Regions from separate parts of the Homo sapiens genome. Here all the other regions are linked to region 4. Evidence: promoter capture Hi-C in 16 types of primary human blood cells and fetal thymus (Javierre and others, 2016). All regions are on one chromosome and are shown on one strand. Each heading gives the region's core, a stretch centred on a gene start or on the middle of the fragment in contact. The rest is flanking DNA. Distances are from core to core; before and after follow the strand shown. Region 1 overlaps TGFBR1 (transforming growth factor beta receptor 1). Region 2 has its middle 29 kb from the start of ALG2. Region 3 overlaps TGFBR1 (transforming growth factor beta receptor 1). Region 4 holds the start of STX17 (syntaxin 17). Region 5 holds the start of TGFBR1 (transforming growth factor beta receptor 1). Region 6 overlaps COL15A1 (collagen type XV alpha 1 chain). Region 7 has its middle 46 kb from the start of ALG2.

Region 1 (2,835 bases), core at 228-2,727, 780 kb after region 4:
ATGAGAAGAGGCACTACTCACAGCTTTTATTATCACTGAAGTTAAAATACAGAAACACATTTAAAATGGAATTAGACCTAAAGCTATTTTTTTCTACTGCAAAACCTAAACATCATCTGTCACATGGAATAATTGTATTCATTTGAATTTTGTTTTTTTTTGTAGTTGTCTTTGTATTTAATTTGCAGATTTGGTTTATAGTGGTGTATGAGCCAAGAACATAAGGGTTTTATATCTAGTTTCATGTCTACAGAATTTAAGTAACATTATGAAAAATACACTCTGTACTTCTCCTTTCAAAGAGGTCATTACATTACGGTAAATTTGAAAAAGTCAGTACTAAAGGGTTTTTCTTAACTACTCTTTCAATCAGAAGAGGTCACTAGACAAATAAAAACATCAAGATAACACAAAGCTTAACTAGGTAAAGATTTCTCTCTTCAGGGAATTAAAAAATTCCATTTCACCACTTGAAGTCAGTCTTGATTGACTACAAGACTGCTGTTATGTGATACGGCAAGATCGTTTAGGGAAAAACTAAAATAAGAACTTAATTTTTTCCATGAACATGAGTTTTAATTGCCATTTTTTTAAAAAATTCAAATTTATTTTATTAATAGATAGATTTGGCCCCTGGATACTGCCCCCCCCAACCTTTTATTCAACTAGGTTTTAAATTTTTAAACGCATATACATGGCAAAATTTCAATCTAAAAAACGTAAACGAAGACACCTCCTTCCGCCAGCCCAAAGCCCAAGTTCTCCTCACTCTGCAACACATCACCTTGACTCTTTCATTTAATTCTGCAATTATTCACTAAGCATCTCTATATGCCAGGTACAGTGTGGGCTATGAGGTGCAGAGATGAGTAAGACAAGGTATTTGCACTTGAGTAGTTCACTAGGGTGGAAGGGAAAGGCATTAAACAGATAATTAAAATCCTGAGTCCTGAGAAGAATGATCAAAGTGTTTCTACTCTGCTGCGGTAGAAGAGATTATCAAGAAAAGCTTCACCAGCATTCAAGTCAGAACTTGGAGAATATGTACAATTTGTTAGATAGATAAGGGTGAGAAAGCTTTCCTGACTGGGTTTTCTTTCTCAGTGGCAGGATTTCATCCTTAGTGGCTGGCATACCAAGTAAGATGATCAAATTTAAATTGTTCAAGATGCTAACTACGATGTTTTATTTCATCAGGAAAATAAACATAATACCTCTCTGACCTATTTCATCATCTGAGCTAATCAAATGAGATACTGTACTTTATTAACACATTTGGAAACGAACATAAATGATTATATAAACACACAGAATTATCCCATATGATAAATGGCATTGTGCCAATGTGGTTTTTATTCGTAGGCCACCAAAGGTAAACTTCTTCCCAAAAGTAGTGACAAAATTCCACTGTAGAATCCCAGACTAACAGAACCACATGAAACTTTGAATATCATCTAGGCAATTCAGTTCTGTCATTTTATTAATGTAGAAACCAAAACTTAAGAAAAGCAAAACAATTTTAAAAATTTTAAAAAGAAAACCAAAAAACCAAAATGATTTATACAAATATTCTACCCAGATTACAGGCGGATGTGAATCCTCACTATATTATCACCAGCCCACGAGTGAAACCTACGCAACTATTTGCTATACCACTATCCCCATGCTAAGTAACCCTGAACTTTAAAGACTCCCAGGTGGACCTGATTTGGTTTAGACTCCTACAGTTTTGACTCTTCTGCTTGATAGCAAAAATAAGAACCAAATCCCCTGTTTAGGACCTTTCTACTACACTGTCCAACTTTGTTTCCATGCCCCAGTCTTTAACAGTGGGCATAGCTTTCTTAATCTTGAGATGCACATTTCTCTAAGCTTTACATTTCTAAAATCTGAATACAATTTACAATCAAAGTAAAAAGAAAACTCCAGCCTCCAGACTGAAAGGTTAAGACATGATGGGTTGTTGTAACCTATGTATGTGCAAACTTGGCTATACATAGAAAAGATTACAAGTTGAGTATCCCTCATGCAAAATGCTCAGGACCAGAAGTGTTTTGGATTTGGGATTTTTTTCAGATTTTGGAATATTTGCATATACATAATGAGACATCTTGGGAATGGGACCCAAGTCTAAGTATAAAATTCATTCATGTTTCATATATGCTTTATATATATAGTCTGAAGGTAATTTAATATAATATTTGAAATAATTTTGAGCATGAAACAAAGGTCATGTTAAGTACTTATGTGCAGAATTTTCCACTTGTGGCATCATGTTGGTGTGCTCAAAAGGTTTTGAATTTCAGATTGGGATGTTTGACTTGTATTCACTTCACCATCACTGTAATTATTTGTCTTGATAGCTCCCTTGCAACTATAACTTAGGTTAAACAAGGATTTCAGTGTGATTCAGCACTAAAAGGAAAAGCTACTGTGTACACAGAAAATTATATCAGAACCATGCCAGGAAATACAATTACTAGCAGTGAAATTTCCAAATATTGCAGAATAAATCAGAATTTTCAAAGTTTGCAGATGTTAGCATGGTGACAGTTAGTACCAAAGGAAGTGACATGAGGAAAAAGAGACAACAGGACCCTTGGGGTTATTATTCATGGTATTATAGTATCGGGGTAACAACTCTCGGGGTAACATATCCCAAGTTGAGATCTTGGCTCTTGGTCCCAATATAAAGGATTTCCTTGGTTGCCTCATTTCAGTACGTCTCGAGGTCACATATGGAAGCACTATTAATTCTATCTAATGCCAGGGCTACCCAGGGTTAATTCACAAGCCCATATGTCTTGCTAGAAAAGCTGAGAGGTAAACAGTTGT
Region 2 (3,144 bases), core at 78-2,577, 710 kb after region 4:
TACTGTGTCCTCACACAACAGAGAGAGAAAGAGCACAAAAGCTCTCTGGTATCTCTTCTTACAAGGGCACTAATCCCATTGTGAGGGCTCCACCCTTGTGACCTCATCTAAACCTAATTACCCCCAAGTGCCCCATGTCCAAATATCACATTTGGGGTTAGGGCTTCAACGTGTGAATTTGAGGGGGACACAATTCAATCCATAGCAGAGATTTCCGTTGAAATATATAGGGATGAAGAATCATGATGTCTGAAAATTACTTTCAAATTATTTTGAAAATAAAAAGAGAAATAGAGATATAAGGTAAATATGGAAAAATGTGAAAGTAGATAATAGGCTTATGGAAACTGGTTAGCTTGATTTACTCACTTTTGTGTTTCTCTTCATCCACTCACTACTTCCCTCCCAGATCCATTCTTTGATCTGCCTGGCCGATGGTGGATGCTCAATATGTCTGTTGAATTAATATTAAAAATAAAGTTCTCCTTACCTGCTAATATCTGCATGACTAAGTAGAGACATAGTTTTAAGCCATTTTCAAAAAATACCCACAATGAATTACTTAAGTAAACATGATTTGCTTAAAGTCACAGTTTAACCTTGCTTTTTTCCTCCCAGCGTTAAGTATCAGATGAAAGGGTGCTTGCTCTCTGTCCCCAGATGCCCCAGGCTGTCCCTCCAGACTGCAGGAGGCCAAGCTCCCTTTTTCTTTCCCTGTGTGCCTTCTGCCCTCACTCAGAGTCCCTACCACCTCAAAACCTTGGGAGCAAACCACGTGGGCAAAAGCAATTTAACGGAAGACAGTACAAATGTTGTACACTTTGAAAATTTTTTTAAAAGAACTGGCAAGATAAAACATTTAATTGCAAGTAACTTGTAAAAATAAAAGTAGTAAAAGTAATAAAAAAAATTACCCAAGAGGCAGAGCTACAAAGAGACTGTAGCTCATTGTTTGAGAATGAATTAGACCTTTATAAAACTCTGAACATTTCCAGATTCTTTAATTGTTATAACGCACCTTTTATTACTTTTCTCTTATTCCTATTGCTTTAGGTCCTTTCAGATTTTTTTTCTATGATAATGGTAATAGACGTTACTACTGAGTGAGTGCCTACTGTGTACCAGGCACAGTTTAGCCCTCACAAGACTATGAGGTGGGTATCCCCATTTTATAGATGAAGAAATTGAGGCTCAAAGAGGATAAGTCACTTGCTTATGATCACACCACTAGAAAGGATAGAACTGGACTCAGACCTCCACATCTGCTCACCTCAAAACCTCAGACTCTACACTACTTCCCGTAAGTGTGTTCCTCTACAAAAACAGCTTCTGTCACATAGTCCCCTATTGTTGGTCCATTATATTGCTTCCAGCTTGTATTTGTTTTTCATTGTTGCTGTAAAGAATTAGCAACAATTAACACAATTAACTTTAGTGGCTTAAAACAACATGCATTCTCTTACAGTTCTGGGAGTCAGATGCCTACAATGAGTCTTCTGAGGCTGAAATCAAGGTGTCGGCAAGGATGGTTCCTTCTGAGAGAGGATCTAGAAAGAATCTGTTTCTTGCCTCTTGTAGCCCCTAGAGGCCGCCTGTATTCCTTGGCCTATGGCTACATGACTCAGTTCTCTGCTTCCATCGCCTCCCCTCCCTGCAACTCCTGTCTTCCTCTTATAAATACTCCTGTGATTATATTGCGCCCACCCAGATATTAATAATTCAGGATAATCTCCCCATGTCAAGATCCTTAATTTAGTTGCATCTGCAAAGTCACTTTTACCATGGAATGAAACATTCATAGGTTCCAGGGATTAGGACATGGGCATCCTTAGGGGACCATTATTCGGTTCAACATACAACTTTTTGACCCAAAGTGCAGAGTAGGAGTCACTGACTCTCCCATGAGTCATTCTCACCCCACATTTCAGGCTTCCATCAGGGATGGGCTCTTGCCTGCTCTGACACTTAACAATGATCTTGGATACTAACCAATCCCATTGCCTGCTAGTTTCCTCCAAACACAGTGGAGGCTTGTTTTTAAGCCACTAAAGTTAATTGTGTTAATTGTGGCTAATTTGTTACAGCAACAATGATGATCAATTCAGTATCAGGCTGTCCTATTTCAGATTCTCCTGAATCACCCCCCAACACACACACACACACACACACACACACACACACACACACACACACACACACATTTTATTTCATCCTTCTCTAGAAGAGATGTATTGAAAATAATACCCCCTACCTTCTCAACGTTGTGAAACTCAAAAGTCAGCAGCAGCTTGGAGGTCTCCAGGTCCTGAGCGCCTCTCTGTTGCCATAATATTTAAGTGGAGTGACTTTAACCCTAAATCCATATGTGATGGGAAAGAGAGAATCTTCCTAATATCACTGAAGATCTTCAGGGCTAAGGGATTTCCATTTTTCTTAGTCACATAAATGTTCGCTTTTCTACTTTTCAATTCCAGTAACATGCAACAACTGCCCTTTTCCCTTAACTCTTCAGCACATATCGAACACCCAATTCCTTCAACCTCCAAAGCACCATCAGTGCAAGCAGAGTGTGTATAGTGGTATCTAAGTTCATTCCTGTTGCTATAACAAAATACTTTAGACGGGGTAATTTATAAACAACAGAAATTCATTGCTCACAATTCTGGAGGCTGGGAAATCCAAGATCAAGGTGCCAGCAGATCTAGTGTCTGATGAGGTCCTGTTCTTCACAGATGATACCTTCTCTGTACCTTTACATGATGGAAGGGCAGAAGAGGGTAAACTCACTCCTTAAAACCCTTTTATAAGGGCACCAATCCCACCCATTAGGGCAGAGTCCTTATGATCTAATCACTTCCCAAAAGCTCCATCTCTTAATACCATCACCTTAGAAATTAAGTTCCAATATATGAATTTTAGGGGGACACCGACATTCAGGTCATAGCAAGTAAAGTAAACAATTACCCACTACAACTTAGATGTTATAATAATAATAATAATAATAATAATAATAATAATAATAATAACTGTCTTCTCTGCAACATGTCTTATCTTGTACCCAAGCCTCTACCCTTTCTCTGATGAGGGAATTCAACCTAGGACAGGGGCATCTTAAGCTTCTTAATTAAAGGTAACTCCATCTCT
Region 3 (3,032 bases), core at 1-2,500, 770 kb after region 4:
GCTCGCCGTGGACAGAGCAAGTTTTATCATTCCTTCCACAGTAACTGTGTATCTGTTTAAGTAATCAAAAAGGGATCCATGCTCATGATAATCTGACACCAACCAGAGCTGAGTCCAAGTACCATTGTCTGTAAAACAGAATTAACATTTCGGTTGGGCTGCAGACCATTTATGATTTATTTGTTCAATGGTTATTACTTTTTACTCTCAATCCTGAGTCACACACTGCAATATAATGCCACCTTAAGTCTGTATTTCCTTCACATTTTCTTCTACATTGTTTGTTTTATACTTTTATGTACACATCCTTTAGTTCCTCAGAGTAAGCCCCTCTTCTTGAGATAAGGCAAGTATAATTAATCCCATTTAAGAGACAAAGATGGTGACTTTTTTGAGTCTTCACAGATAATTGGTATCAGAGCTGGCACTCTTAAGTGCCTAGAAAAATCTCTGGGTCGGGTTGGGTGCTCAGTGGCTGTTCCTGGAAGGAGAGAAGGTTAAAAAAAAGGAAGGAACAGAGAGGGAAGCAAGGAGGTGAGAAGTCTCCGGAGACCAGTGTGGCCACAGTGGGAATGGAAGAGTATGGGACAAAACTGAAAGTGAGTTTCAACAAGAAATGACAAGCTTTAGTGACAGATTGTGTACACAGTTCACAAAGACGCAAGACAAGATGATTATGATTCCAAGGTTGCTAGCTTAGAAAAACAGAAATAGTGATACCTCTAACACATGGGGAAGCTGAAATAGGAACTGAAATGTCAGGAGCAAAACTGGAAAAGCTGGGACTAAACTCAAACAACGAGGAACGTGGGTTCCAAAATTTCCTCTGTAAGCCAAAACACGAGTTTAAAACATGTTTTCTCATAGGAATAATGGTAAAGACACTAGCTAGGCTCCTAAGCTAGACTGGTCCACGACAATCTAATTTAACCTAGAAGTAGCTGGAAAACCACATGCTTAATTAAGCCATGAAGAAAAAAAGCATTACAACATTAGGAGACAGCACAATCCAGTAAAAGATGGACGCTTAGAGTCATTCTAACCTGGTTGGAATCCACGGCCTGCCTGTTACTGACAAGGAGCCTGTTTCTCCTTTTATACAAGAATAAAGTCTTACTTTGTAAGACTGTTAAGATTTAAAAAACGGAATGCTAGATTCTTTAGGTAAGAAGTACATAAACTGTGCTCTTTCTTTCCCTGCTGGTTGTAAACCAAAAGAAAAAATCCATATTGACATGAAACAGCTTCTATTTTGAAGGTATTTGGTTGAAGAAGAAAACCAACTCTGATTAGAAGAGATTAAGAAAGGAATAGAAACTTTTCAGAAGATTCTGGAGGAGATTTCTGGGTACATTTAAAAGGACTTAGTATTAATTTGTTCTTCATGAACTTTATAAACTGATTCTGACCAAACTCGCACCCTTGCTTTTCCTTGATATAGGCACATCACTAGCTTATTTGCATGCCTCTTAACCATTACTGAATTTTGAAAAGCTCACAAATACAAGAAACAAAGTGGAAGACAGGCAGATGGAAGAAAGGGAAACCACAGGTTATGGACAAGATAGAAGGAAGGTTATATGTAAGGGGCCATAAATATAAAGGGCTGCCGGGGGTGGAATTAACTAAATCAGGAGAAGATAAAGGAACTGAGGTGGAGGGGCTAGGCTCAGAGAAAGTACATTAACCCCTGACAAAGAAGAAAGAAGGGGAGTAGGGAAGAGCCAGTAGGGTCAGCTAGTTCCCATGGTGACCACCAGATGACAGCATCAGCCTGGTTAGAAGTTCAGGGCACAGACTCACCAACATTTTGTGCTGCTGTGTTTGTAACTTGGAATGTGACAAAATCCAGACCCTGGGTGAGGTTTAAGCTTTCAAATGGAGATTTGAGAGTTGCCAACATGGTAGAGTTTGAAACCATGAATGTGGCTATGTTCTTAAGGAAGAAATTACCACTTATAAAATCAGTACCTTCATATGAACCAGTGAGAAGAGTAAGAGTTGAGAAAACAAAGACAACTATGAAGAAGTAAGAAGGAACAAGGAAAGTCTAGGGTCATCAAACACAGTAAATAAAGAAAAGGTTGTTTTAAGAGTTGGGGGAGGAAATAAATGGTGATAAAGGCAGAAACGAAAATGAGAACTAAGGATTTGGTCAGACTGATTACTATTTTTTGTTTTGTTTTGTTTTGTTGTTGTTTTTTTTTTGAGACAGAGTCTCCCTGTGTCGCCCAGGCTGGAGTGCAGTGGTGCGATCTCAGCTCTGACTGCAACCTCCACCTCCCAGGTTCAAGCAATTCTCTGCCTTAGCTTCCCAAGTAGCTGGGATTATAGGCACCTGCCATCATGCCTGGCTAATTTTTTTGTATTTTTAGTAGAGATGGGGTTTCATCATCTTGGCCAGCCAGGCTGGTCTTGAACTCTTGACCTCGTGATCCACCCACCTTGGCTTCCCAAAGTGCTGGGATTACAGGCGTGAGCCACTGTGCCCGGCCTGTTTTGTTTTTAACTTAAGAGGTATTACATTGTCAGGTGCCACTGATAATCGCTACCTACATTCATCATATACCTCACTGCCCCGTCTTAATCAAACACTATACACCTCCACATATGATGCAATAGGATGTATATAATATCCTTAGTATGTATTTTGAGAAAACCAATAAAACTCCAATTAGGTTTAGCTTCTAAATCTAACTACCAGTTTTCAGAAAAGATAGAAGAACAAGTTAAGAGACACTATGGAAATGCAATCAGCAAAATCCAGAATGTGATAGGCCCTTCAGGATAAACAATCCAATTTCTTCAACAAATAAGCTGCGAGAGGAGAAAAAAGATGAAGGGGGGACCTAAATTTTAAGACACATAAGAGAAATATCAACTAAATATAACTTGTGGACTTAGAATCATAATTTGAATAAATAATTTTTTTAATAGGAGACAATTATAGAATTGAACCTAACTGGATATTTGATAACATTTAAAAAACTGACAATGGTAGTGTGGTTGTTTCATAAAAACATTTCCTCATC
Region 4 (3,138 bases), core at 282-2,781:
TGATCAAGATTAACCTCACGAGCAATAAGTCATATATATCAGCTATGCTCATATGATGAACTGAGAAGGGCACACACACTTTTGTGTTCTTAACAAAAATGTATAACCTTAATCTAATCATGAGAGAACACTGGACAAACCCCATTTGAGGGGCACTCTACAAAATAACTGACCAGCATTCTTCAAAAGTGTAAAGATCAGAAAGAGTATAAAGACAGAAAAAGACTATCAGTGTAAAGACAGGAAAAGACAGAGGAACTGTCACAGACTGGAGGAGACCAAGGACCCAAGACAACTAACTGCAATGTCGGGTCTTAGAGTGGATCCTAGAATAGAAAAAGGACATTAATACAGGAAAAAAAATCACAAGTTAGTAATTCAGTTAATAGTATTATACTAATATTAACTTCTTGCTTTTGATAATTGCGCTATGGTATGTAAAAAATTATTAATGGAGGCAATAGGGAACTCTGTATTACTTTTGAAACTTTTCTGTAATTTTAAAATTATTTCAAAATAAAAAAGTTTTTTAGTATAAGAGGATGTTTCACGTAAGACAGGTAAAAACATTTAGAAGTCAAAGAACTGCCATCGTATTCACTGCATTAATACTTGGAGAGAGGGGTGCCAGGACTGTGCCAGGTGCTTTACAAACTTTATCATGTAGTGCTTACAACTAATATGAGATGGGTACCATAATACTCATGTTTCCCAGTAAGTTACTTAGGAGGTTATTAATAAGTGAAAGACCCCATTTCTCAGGAAACCCAGCCCCCAAAAGTGACGAACACCTTCCATCGGCCCAGAGCTCCCACTTTTCAGGATACTAGTGGCGCCCGATTTCTTCCGGCCCGCCGCTTAATGTTTCTGACTTATGGAAGAGATACCGAATTTGGAGAGAAAAGTCAAAGTAAAGTCTCCTCTCTGAACCTCGGTTAGCTAAAAGGAGGGAGCCAAGGTGTGGGACCTTCTGCCAACCACCTCTGGGTTTGGCGAGCAGGGGCTTCCGGCCTCTCGCTCCCAGTCCTCCGAGCCTCACTACCATCGAGCGTCGCGTCATTCCTCGCAGTGTCACCCACAGCACACCTGGGCCACACACACCAAACGCCCCCACCAGCGAACGGATGCGCGGGTCTGTCCCGGGACCCAGACGCCAGCGACCCTGGCGACCCGGGGCCTACAGCGCGCCAGAGACAGGACGCGCGCCGGAAACTTTTCCACCCCGCGACCCCGGGAGGCCGTCCTGCTCGCATCGTCTGCGGCCTCCCTATACCAGCTTCCAATAAAGCTTCCAAAAACGAAACCAAGCGAGGCTCCGCCACTTCTGAAAAACAGGAGGAGCCACCATGGCGCTCGCACTTCGGATCCAATGCCCTACTTGCCGCCCAGCGCCTCTTGCGCGCGCCACACGGGCGCCAGGCCCACCAAGCCTGTGAGGGCCCGACGCCCCCAAAGGCGGCCTCCAGAGAGCCCCTTACCTCCCGCCGGGGCGCTCGAGGCCGGTCGGTGGGCACGGCGCAGGCGCAGGAGCGACGGGGCGGGGCATCACGAGGGGTGGGCAGGGTTGGGCCCCGCCCCCGCCCCCGCCCCCGCCCCGCAGGGCCCCCAGGCCGGGCGCTGGGGGCGCACAGGTGAGTACAAATGCGGACGCTGCTGAGAACAGCGAAAGCCTTTTTCAAAAGTGATATTGATTTACGTTATGGGGTTGTGACTCGAGCCAAGAGGAGAGAGACGCACAAACGCTCTTTAGGTCTGCTTGTTGTGTTTAAGACAATTCATGCTTGTATGGCCGACTGCATTTCGCAGTTTTCCTGTCCGTTTTCCTCTGTTCTTCCTAGAATTTTATTTGCGGGTTGGGCATGTATTCTTAGCTCTGTTTTGAAACTGAAGCTCAGAAAGGTGGTGCCTCCCCATCCCGTCCCCAAAAGCCCTGTGAAGTGGACAGGGCAGGAGTGCCATCTTAATTGCAACAGGTGTAAAAATTAAAGCTCAGCAAATTGTGGTTTCCTCCAAAAACTGGTGGAGGGCTTAAGGCAAACGTCTTTATCCCGATTTTATAGATTATGACTCTGGGGTTTAACAAAGAGTTTTAAGTGACTCACTCCAGTTCAGCCAGCTTATGGCAGAGCTGGAACTCCAACTGGGTGTCCTAATTTCCTTCCCAAGTTATTCCAGTTAGACCAGCTGCAACCACATGAACAAGCAGGTGGCCGGCTTTGAAGCCTTGTCCAAGTCACAGGTCCTCCTCTCTTCATGGCCTAACTTCCAGATCCAGCCCTTTTAAAAAGATGTCTGTGAATATTCAGATGACGTGCTTAGAATGTATTCACTAATGGCATTGTCTCAGAAGTGATCAGGATGTTCAAACCACAGTTAAGGAAACTGAGTTCTTAGGGTCTTCCAGTAGAGTAGGAGGTAAACAGGGAAGATTAGGGGCCTGTAGATCCTTTAAAAAGCCTTGAAAGACAATTTCTAAAACAAAGCACCAAATCTACCAAGCAATTTGGATTTTCTTTGGGGACATAATGTATACTGATATTTGTTTTACAATGAGCTCCAGAATGTATTTATCAAATTTTGATTCTAAGGAGAAAAATTAAAGTATTAGGCAATACTGTGAGAAAATGTTTTTTATGCAAGGATCAGTGAAATAAGATCTTTTGAAATAAAAGATCATTTGTGTTAAGTTCTGAAAAAGCTTCCTCAGGTACAAAATCAGGAGGTGTGGTACTCAAAGATTCTAAATTTGGACCTGGACTTCTAAGTTGTTATATGTATGTTTGCTGTAAGTTAGGTGTGTCAAAGTAGTAGGATAAACATTTTTTTTTTTTTTTTTTTTTTAGACAGAGTCTTGCTCTTTCGCCCAGGCTGGAGTGCAGTGGCATGATCTCAGCTCACTGCAACCTCCACCTCCCAGATTCAAGCGATTATCCTGTGTCAGCCTCCTGAGTAGCTGGGACTACAGGCGTGTGCCAACATGCCCGGCTAATTTTTTGTATTTTTAATAGAGACAGAGTTTCACCATGTTAGCCAGGATGGTCTTGATCTCCTGACCTCGTGATCCGCCCGCCTCGGCCTCCCAAAGTACTGGGATTACAGGTGTGAGCCACCATGCCCGACCAAAACCTTTTAATCTAA
Region 5 (2,771 bases), core at 214-2,713, 800 kb after region 4:
CCTGGGAGTTTACTTGTGGTGATTAAATAATGTAATTATACAATAGTGTATGCATTTACATCGTAGTAATGCACAATACATAGACGGTAGCTATTAGGACTGATTATAATCGTCACCGTCAGTCTTGATTTTTTAAAAAAATTTCAACATCTTTTGTCCAGTTTCAGAAACAGAAATGTACTTTCACTGCATTTTAGTTGCTAACACTGAGGCTGTGTATTTTAGCTTCTAGTGTCTCAGTTCAGCTGCTAACGAAGTTTTTCACTCATCCCTTTGTGGATACCAACCACCTACCCCAACCTGATTTACTATTTTGAAAAATCCAGCCAACAGTCTTCCTTGAAAACCAGCTATACAGATGTCTGAATCAAACTATTAACTGTCACTCAAGAAAAGGAACAACGTGAGTGATGTTCCTTCGAGGAAATAAAAAGCGTTTAATCAATTCACAGTCGTTCCCAAAATTTCCAAAACCCGCAGAATGAGCAAACGTTCAAGTTTCCACTATGAAAACAATCCGTAGCCGTCTGGTTACTGGACTCACTTCAACACTCCCCAGACGCACGAAAGAAGAAACATTCCGCGCATCTCCGCGCTTCCTTCTTCTCACACAAAGCCCCCCTGGCTGGAGGAGCAGCCCCTTCCAGCAGGGTCGGCTCGGGTCGAGCCGGGCGGGAGTCAGGGCGGCCTGCGGACCCAGGGGTCTCACCACACGTCGCCCCCGACTCCCACTGGACGAAGCCCTAGAGGCTCGGAGCTCACACCCCGCCCGGGAGCCGCCTTCCACCCCAACCTCAAACCCCGCCCCGGGTTCGGCAGCCTCTGGCACGGACCCTCTTGGGGCGGGGGTCCCCAGAACAAGGTCACGCCGTGCCCAGGGGGCGGCGGCGGGCAGCCACGGCTCTGCCAGTCCCCGCCGGCCTCGCACTCTCCGCCCCTGGCCCTCGCCCACTCACACCCCAGAGGGCAGCCCCGGACCTCGGACGACTCCGCCCGACTCCACCTCCCCGGGGAGTCCCGAGCGGGGCGGCCTCGGGCAGCCGGACACGTCCGCCCGCGCCCGGACACACGCCCCTGCCCCGCCTCCGCTCCCCGCTTGCGGTTCGCCCGGCAGCCGCCGAGCCGCGCGGCGCCACGAGAGCCCGGCCCGGGCCCCGGCGCCGCCACCTGCGCCCCCGGCCCCGCGCCATGTTTGAGAAAGAGCAGGAGCGAGCCAGAGGCCGGGTCCGGCCCGCGCGCCCCGCAGTCGCCCGCCCGCCGCGCCGCCGCTCACCCGTCGCCCCCGGGAGCAGCGCCGCCGCCGCCGCCGCCGCCGCCGCCAGCACGAGGAGGAGCAGCCGGGGACGCGGAGCAGCGACCGCCGCCTCCATGGTCCCGCCGCCACCGCCTGTGGCCCGGCCCGGCCCGGCCGCGCCGCTGCCTCACCCCAGCAAACCTCGCCTCGCCCCACCTCCCTAGCCGCCGCGGCGGCCTCGCTCCGGCCCTTTGTAACTGCTCGGAGGACGCGCGTCCATTGGCTGCCGGGCTCCCGCCGGCCCCGCCTCCCCGCCGCCGCGAGCTGCCAAGCGGGACCCAGCCGGGAGCCCCGCCTGCGGGCCCGCCAGGCAGCCAATCCGCAGCCGCGAGCGCCGGTTTCTGGCCACGCCCCACGCTCCCCGGGGGCTGGGCCGCCAGACCCCAGCCCCGGCCCGATCGGCTCCCGGCTCCGAGAGGCCGCGTGGGGGCGGGGTCTGCCAGCCCCAGCACCGCTCAGCCGCTAGCCCCGGAGGGCCGGGTAGAGCGATGGGTGTGTCTGTGTGAGTCTCTTTCGGAAAAAGGCTGTGGCCGTTCGACGCTCTTTTCTTCTAACCTCCTCTAGGCGCGGAAGATCTGGTACTGCCTCAGCCCCACCCTGACCCCATTCACAGCTCCGCATTGGCAATCCCAGCACATGCCACCCAGATCCGCTGCAGCGCCAGGCCCCTGCATCCACTTCAACTTCCCCTCTCCAAGTCCACGCATCAACTTCAGCATTCCCCCGAAGATCCCTCCTCAGTGCCCTTCACATGCGACTCACTCTCCTATTTCCTCCTGCTCCCAGCGGTCACCCCAAACCCAGCTCCCCCACCCAGTTCCAAACCCAGAAAGTCCTCAGATCCCAGCGTCAGACCCAGATCCTGAGCCCAAACACACCCCCAAATAGCCTCCCGCCTCCCTCCAGCACAGATCCAGGATGGGGATCCAAGCCGCACTCCTCTCAAACCCCTTCCCGATCCAGGTTGGAAAGGGAGGATCCCCACCCCAACCCCTCAAAGGAGGGGTTCCCCCTTCTTAGCACCCAGCTCCCGCGGGGCGGAGGGGGAGCAGTCATCATTACTTTGAGCTGTGTCTGACACTGCTGTATAATAATCCTGAGGTGTCACTAAAAACCCAAATAAACTCTACGTTTTCATTCTGAATTCCTAATTTACTGCGAGACGCTCCACCCACCTTCCCTCTGCGACGCCAAAATGAGCTCCAGATTTGTAATTCTTCCTGTCAGACTAGTCCTTTCTTCAGACACAAACACAGCCAAGGAGGCTGTTACGTAGAACAGAGAATATTTTTCCGCAGAACCTTTTAAGGAGGAAATTTTATTTTCTGTGTCATTTGAGCTTAGAATTAAATAAACCTTGATAGCAGGAATCAGAATGGTTCTGATTAATGCCAATTTGTGCACTACTTTAGAGTCACTGGGTGAGCATTTTCCCCACCTGTGAAGGCTTCCTTCCGGGAGATGAAAAGGGAAAAGG
Region 6 (2,887 bases), core at 363-2,862, 900 kb after region 4:
CACAACCCCAGACACAGGTGAAGGGGAGCTTGCGCTCTGAGCTACTTACTGGAGTGACCCCTTCCTCTGGGTTCTCCGTGGACATAGAGAGGGTTGGTCCCCCGGTGGGCACACTGCTGGCCTCTGCTTCTCCAGCAGTGCTGATGGGCACCTCGGCCAGCCCCGCTGCTGTTGCTGCTAAATTCTGAAAACAAAGGCATCACAAGAGACCATGTCTCTGGGCTCCCATCAACATGCCTGTGGCTGGTGAGAACAGACTGCCTAGCCTTCTCCAGCCACCTGCATTTCTGTAGCTTCTTTCTCTCAAGGACTTTCACATCTATGGTTTCATAAATCCAGGGATGGGAAAGACTGCCCAGGCACCTATGTCTGGTGTTTGATTCCCAGTATTGGTTTGCACCTCCATTAACACGGAAATCACTGCTCCTGAGTCAGCCTGGTCTAGCTCTAGATACTTCTACTGAAACCCATTGCCTCCCTGTGACCTCCCCATGTACCCATCCAGAAGGCATTAGACAATGTCTTTGCCCATGAAGATGCTTCAGAAATGTGTAGGCAGCACCTCTGTCCTCCTCAGCCTTCTCTAGGCTGGGAGACAGAGACATTCCTGCTTCTTCTCTCTCCCTGTGACTCAGTTTCCTTTGGGAATGCACAGGCAGATTCTCTGAAGGTTTCATAGCAATGGGAGAAATGGAAAGAGAGAGCAGCTTTGGGGCTGGTGACAGCAAACTATGTTCTATCTTCATTTCCCAAAGCTTGTTTATTTATTGCAAAAATGTGGTTCTTTTGGTTACAAAAAACACCAGGCTAATCAAAGTTAAAAAGATTTCCTTGCTGCAGGATTTCTCAGAATCTATAAAAAGAGGAATGTAGAGTGCAGCATTTCCCAAAGTCATTTGACCACAGAGCCCCTTTTTCATAAAATATATTAAATCCTTGCAGAATTACTGTCTCAAAAAACAGTTAGAGGAAAGTTGAGGTCCCAGGATGTTAAAATGAGACTCTTTCTAACTCAGCGTCAGCTAAAGCCCCAAAGGGCAAGTGCAATTTCACAGGCATCAGGTAATCTCCCCATGCTAAAACAAGGAAATGGCACCCGTTCTACCAGCTCCTGCCCATCTCCTACCTCTAGGCTGTGTAAGAAACCATACAGGACTCATTTTGGGGTTGAGTGCCTGGAGAGCAAGAATTCCTTTGGAAAGAATTTTCAGTGTACTGCGGTTCTTCTCCTCCCCTCTACTCACTCCAAACCATTTGGTGAGCTGGGTATGTATTTCCTGGAATTTGGGAGGCTCAGGGACTGGTGTCTGATTTTCTCCAGGGAGACAAAAGGTGAAAGGAGGGAGCCCTTTAGATTCAGAGTTGGGAGAGAGGGACAAAGGAAGAGAGGGGAAGGGGAGAGGAGAGGAGGGGGAGGTGAGGGAGAAAGAGAAAAGGAGGGAAGTGGGAAGAGGAGGGGAGGGGAGAAAAGGGGAGAGGAGAGGAGAGGAGAGGAAGGGAGGGAATAAAAGGAGAGAGGAGGGAAGGAGGAGGTGAGAGGGAAAGGGGAGAGGAGGGGAGGGGGATGGAGAAGGGAGGGGTATTTGTCCTGCAGTTGTTTTGCTGGAGATAGACAAGATAAAATCTCTCCAAAGGGAGCTGGCTGAAATGGGCTGTACTCAAAGAGCCACGCAGAAGATCTGGGCAACCTGTATGGGGTGGAAGCCCGGGCAGAAGTTACAAGGCAAACTATGGAATTTTGATCCTAGGTCCCCTGCAGGAAGACCTCCCAGGAACCACAAAAGCCCCCATAAGAGAGAGTTCCAACAATCAGGCATCTTCCACACCAAAAGCCCAGATCACAATTTGACCAGCCAAGTACAACTGTGTCCATTTCTCCAGGTGGGCCAGCCCCTGCAGATGTTAAAAATAGCTCTAGAGGATGGGGAGATCATGAGGATAAGGAGGAGAGAGAAGTAAGAAAATAGAGAGGAAACCCCTAACCATGCTTCCCTTTCCTGGCAGTTTCCTAGTCTACAGTAGGCCTGAGTATAGAAGGGGGGAAACTGTGTTTGTAATTTTGTTGAATTTTTGATATTATGCTGGGCTTGACTTTTAAATATCTGTGAAAATTGACTGTTACCAGATAGTGACTGAGAGAGCTGTGAGAACTGTCTTAAGTTTTCATCCCAGGAGAAGGGAAGGAATGAGCTGGCGTTGTGGGTTTTCAGCAGGGGCCATTGTGAGAAAACTATTTATGCTTTAATTTTGCACCCTAGGGAGCCCAGCATTTCAAAAACTGGCTTTGCAGGTGTAAAAGCCAATTACCAAACAATAGCATGAACACACCTGCAGTTAATCTGATTCTGTCTTGAAGGGGACTCAAAGGGCTGATAAAGCTATGTGCCTTCACAACTGAGCAGGAGGGCGGGGTTGCATTGGTGAGGCCTGGACGCTCGCTCATCACAGGCAAGTGTGAGGACAAGCTTGCACTGCATATCCCCCACCAGTCCTGTGCATCCCTGGAGAGCCTCTGTGGCCCTGGGACTCTGACCTCCTCTGTACCATGAGGACAGAAGCAATCTTGATGCTATTCAACCAAAACCCTTGTGGTTCTCTCTGGTGCTCAGTAAAATCATCACCAAGTTTGAAATAAGCAAACAAGCCTACTACTGACTAATCAAATGAAATTTACCATCTACTCACCTTTTCTTCAGCAATGTCAAGGAAGGCCCCAGCCCCTGAGCCGCTGTCAGTAATGGGGTCACCATCCACAGAATGAACCCCCTCCAGTGTGTCATTCAGGATCTCACCAGACCCTACAGGAAGCAGGCATTCTGCTATCAATAACTACATTTTGCAGTCTTGGAAAAGAATGAGGTATCTCTTCACCAGCTAACTTGGAAAG
Region 7 (2,820 bases), core at 319-2,818, 730 kb after region 4:
CACGTGCCACCAAGGCCGGCAAATGTTTCTACTTTTTTTGTAGAGGTGGGATCTTACTATGTTTTCCAGGCTGGTCTCAAACTCCTGGCCTCAAGGAATTCTCCCACTTCAACCTCCAAAAGTGCTGGGATTTTAGGAGTGAGCCACTGTGGCTCACCTGAACAAATTAAGTGTTTATAAACATGTACAAACTGCACTGCTGTCATAGGAATGAAGTTCAAGGTGAATCTCACAAGGTTCCCCTCGAGGATAAGCAGAACTCTTACTCCCTGATACTCAAAATAAAATACCCCACTCTTCTGAATAGCTCCCAGACACTATGTCCCCCTTGTAAACAGAACCGCTCCCTCCAAGCCCAGAGGTCAACTTCTTGAATATGTCATGCCATTTCTTCACTCTCCTCCCCGGGTTGCTTATCAGATGCTCTGTGCATCATCTCCTGCATCCCGTAGCCAAATAAACCAGTCAGTGCTCAATTCTCCAATTGACTGGATGGCTCAGGGAACAAACCCTCAAATCTGATTACAGGAAAATTCATTACTTTAAGTCCTCCCTCAGGGTTCAGAGCTCATAAAAGAAACCTCCAGAGGCCCAGGCCGAGGGGAAGAGAAGCTCCTATGCTGCACATCTACAGATTGCCAATAATTAACCTGAACTAATTATTGTTGAGCCCCAGGTCAGTCTTCCCAGATCAAGGCTCCCCTGACAACTGAGTTTTCAGAGCCAGAACTTTTCACTCAGACACAAAAGGAACATTCAGCAGATTTTAATAAAAAAGAGCATGACTCACATAGGATCCTCTGCTAGACAGAGACCCAGCCGGTTGGAGGCTCACTGGCAGGGACACGATTCAGGGCCCCCAGAGAGACACCTGTGTGAGGACTCTCTTCCTGGCCCTGTTTACAACCCTCTTAGGATTTTTGAACAAATAAGACCACACATCTCAACACATAAAGACAAACAGCAAGTTAGGAAAAATATGTACATTCTGTTCATAATATTAAAAGCTGACATGAAAAAATAAGACAAAAATGAATATTCCAAAGGAAAAAATAGTAAATTATAAGGAAAAATAATTCACCGTGGAAACAATAGCTAATCTGTATAATCAACATAGTTTCATTTCATGTTCAGTCTCACTCTAGTAATTTTTAAAAGTCAGTGAGATAGTATTTTGTTTTCTGGCCGGGCACAGTGCCTCATGCCTGTAATCCCAGCACTTTGGGAGGCCAAGGTGGGCAGATCACCTGAGCTCAGGAGTTCAAGACCAGCCTGGCCAACGTGGTGAAACTCCAGCTCTACTACAAATACAAAAATTAGCTGGGCATGGTGGCACACGCCTGTAGTCCCAGCTACTCAGGAGGCTGAGGCAGGAGAGTCACTTGAACCTGGAAGGGGGAGGTTGCAGTGAGCCAAGATCATGCCACTGCACTCTAGCCTGGGCAACAGAGCAAGACTCTGTCTCAAAAAGCAAAACAAAAACAAACAAAAAACCCATTTTGTTTTCTGAGATTGGTAAAATGTTTTGAGCTGGGCTTTTTTTAGTGCTAACGTTCATATTCATAAGGGTAGTGAAATTGAGCGCTATTATACACTGTTGTTTGGAGTATAAAGTCATAAATCAGTGCAATTCTGAGAAGGTAATTTGGCAATAGATAACAAAAACCTTAAAATATGCATATTCTTTAAACTTTTATCTTAAGAACTTTATCCTTAGGGCAGTGGTTCTCAAGCAGGGGCAACTGTGCTGCCCAAGGGACATTTGGCAATGTAGAGACATTGATTGTCAGCAAGTTGGGGAAGGGGTGCTGCTGGCATCTAGTGATGCAGGCCAGGGAGGCTGTTACCCATCTCATGGTACACAGGACATCCCCCCAGAATAAGAATTATTGTCACTCTTGAGAAACCCTGCTTTAGGAGAAAACACTCAGGCAAGTTGACAGGGGTATACAGCCAAAGATATTCAGTGAAGAATTGTTTAGAAAGCTAAAAAATGAGAAGCAGTGTGCATCACTAAGTTACCAATTAAATAAATCATATGCCATGCATACACTAGACCATCATAGATCCATTAAAAATTGAATACACTCCAGCCTGGAAGACAGAGCGAGACTCTGCCTCAAAAAAAAATTAAATAAATCTGTTTATTGATGGGAATATATTCATTCTATAGTGCTAATTGAGAATAACTAGTTTCAGAATCATATGCCTAGTAGGATCATCTTTTTGTATGTGCATATGTATGTATAGAGAAAAATCTGAAGGTGTTTATCTACCATGTTACACCTTTAACAGTAGTTTTCACTAGGTGGAAACGTTATGGGTCATTTTAAATTTTTTTTTTTTTTTTTTTTAAGATGGAGTCTCACTCTTGTTGCTCAGGCTGGAGTGAAACGGCATGATCTCGGCTCACTGCAACCTCTGCCTCCCGGGTTCAAGTGATTCTCCTGCCTCAGCCTCCCAAGTAGCTGGGATTACAGGCATGCACCATCACACCCTGCTAATTTTTTTTGTATTTTTAGTAGAGATGGGGTTTCACCATGTTGGCCAGGCTGGTCTCGAACTCCTGACCTCATGTGATCCACCTGCCTCAGCCTCCCAAAGTGCTGGGATTACAGGCGGGAGCCATCACGCTCAGCCCATTTTAATTTTTTGTGTTAGTTTTTCAGTGTTTTCTATTTTTCTTTTATTAGCACGGCTAATGAAGGCCTTCTAACGCAGAGTTGAAGATCAAGGACATTAGAATCAGACACCAAGCATTCTGGCTGGGTCCTGTCTCAGCTCTGAGAAAAGCTGCATCCTTGCATGGCAGCCATCATC

What was found. The method cuts DNA at HindIII sites, captures the fragments that hold promoters and counts their contacts. A CHiCAGO score of 5 or more calls a contact.
Region 1: a fragment that was not itself captured here is called in contact with the fragment with the promoter of STX17 in region 4 in 2 of 17 cell types (fetal thymus and M2 macrophages); the score reaches 6.3 in fetal thymus.
Region 2: a fragment that was not itself captured here is called in contact with the fragment with the promoter of STX17 in region 4 in 1 of 17 cell types (total B cells); the score reaches 5.3 in total B cells.
Region 3: a fragment that was not itself captured here is called in contact with the fragment with the promoter of STX17 in region 4 in 1 of 17 cell types (fetal thymus); the score reaches 6.2 in fetal thymus.
Region 5: a contact is called between the fragment with the promoter of TGFBR1 here and the fragment with the promoter of STX17 in region 4, in 1 of 17 cell types (fetal thymus). The highest score is 8.3, in fetal thymus.
Region 6: a fragment that was not itself captured here is called in contact with the fragment with the promoter of STX17 in region 4 in 1 of 17 cell types (fetal thymus); the score reaches 6.0 in fetal thymus.
Region 7: a contact is called between a fragment that was not itself captured here and the fragment with the promoter of STX17 in region 4, in 4 of 17 cell types (M1 macrophages, total B cells, naive B cells and 1 more). The highest score is 9.5, in M1 macrophages.

Annotation. Positions count from the first base shown.
Region 1 is chr9:99,122,341-99,125,175 of GRCh38, reverse strand. All of the region lies in intron 1 of TGFBR1 (transforming growth factor beta receptor 1), which reads right to left. Among named protein-coding and RNA genes, the nearest start is that of TGFBR1, 19 kb to the right of the region's middle. The HindIII fragment of the contact is 795 bases long and covers 1,080-1,874 here.
Region 2 is chr9:99,191,758-99,194,901 of GRCh38, reverse strand. No RefSeq gene overlaps it. Among named protein-coding and RNA genes, the nearest start is that of ALG2, 29 kb to the left of the region's middle. The HindIII fragment of the contact is 3,582 bases long and covers 1-3,118 here.
Region 3 is chr9:99,139,632-99,142,663 of GRCh38, reverse strand. TGFBR1 (transforming growth factor beta receptor 1) reads right to left here. Exons shown (of 9, transcript NM_004612.4): 5 at 1-128. Among named protein-coding and RNA genes, the nearest start is that of TGFBR1, 36 kb to the right of the region's middle. The HindIII fragment of the contact is 1,247 bases long and covers 627-1,873 here.
Region 4 is chr9:99,905,047-99,908,184 of GRCh38, reverse strand. It overlaps STX17 (syntaxin 17), which reads right to left and starts at 1,531. Exons shown (of 8, transcript NM_017919.3): 1 at 1,479-1,531. STX17-DT (STX17 divergent transcript) reads left to right here and starts at 1,584. Exons shown (of 3, transcript NR_038853.1): 1 at 1,584-1,631. RefSeq lists an enhancer at 993-1,232 and a silencer at 1,393-1,792. The HindIII fragment of the contact is 1,410 bases long and covers 1,291-2,700 here.
Region 5 is chr9:99,103,805-99,106,575 of GRCh38, reverse strand. It overlaps TGFBR1 (transforming growth factor beta receptor 1), which reads right to left and starts at 1,463. Exons shown (of 9, transcript NM_004612.4): 1 at 1,274-1,463. The coding sequence starts at 1,370. RefSeq lists silencers at 736-1,245, 1,336-1,935. The HindIII fragment of the contact is 12,693 bases long and covers 1-2,771 here.
Region 6 is chr9:99,000,750-99,003,636 of GRCh38, reverse strand. COL15A1 (collagen type XV alpha 1 chain) reads right to left here. Exons shown (of 42, transcript NM_001855.5): 7 at 2,686-2,798; 8 at 50-184. Among named protein-coding and RNA genes, the nearest start is that of COL15A1-AS1, 58 kb to the right of the region's middle. The HindIII fragment of the contact is 1,710 bases long and covers 758-2,467 here.
Region 7 is chr9:99,174,600-99,177,419 of GRCh38, reverse strand. No RefSeq gene overlaps it. Among named protein-coding and RNA genes, the nearest start is that of ALG2, 46 kb to the left of the region's middle. The HindIII fragment of the contact is 4,738 bases long and covers 1-2,820 here.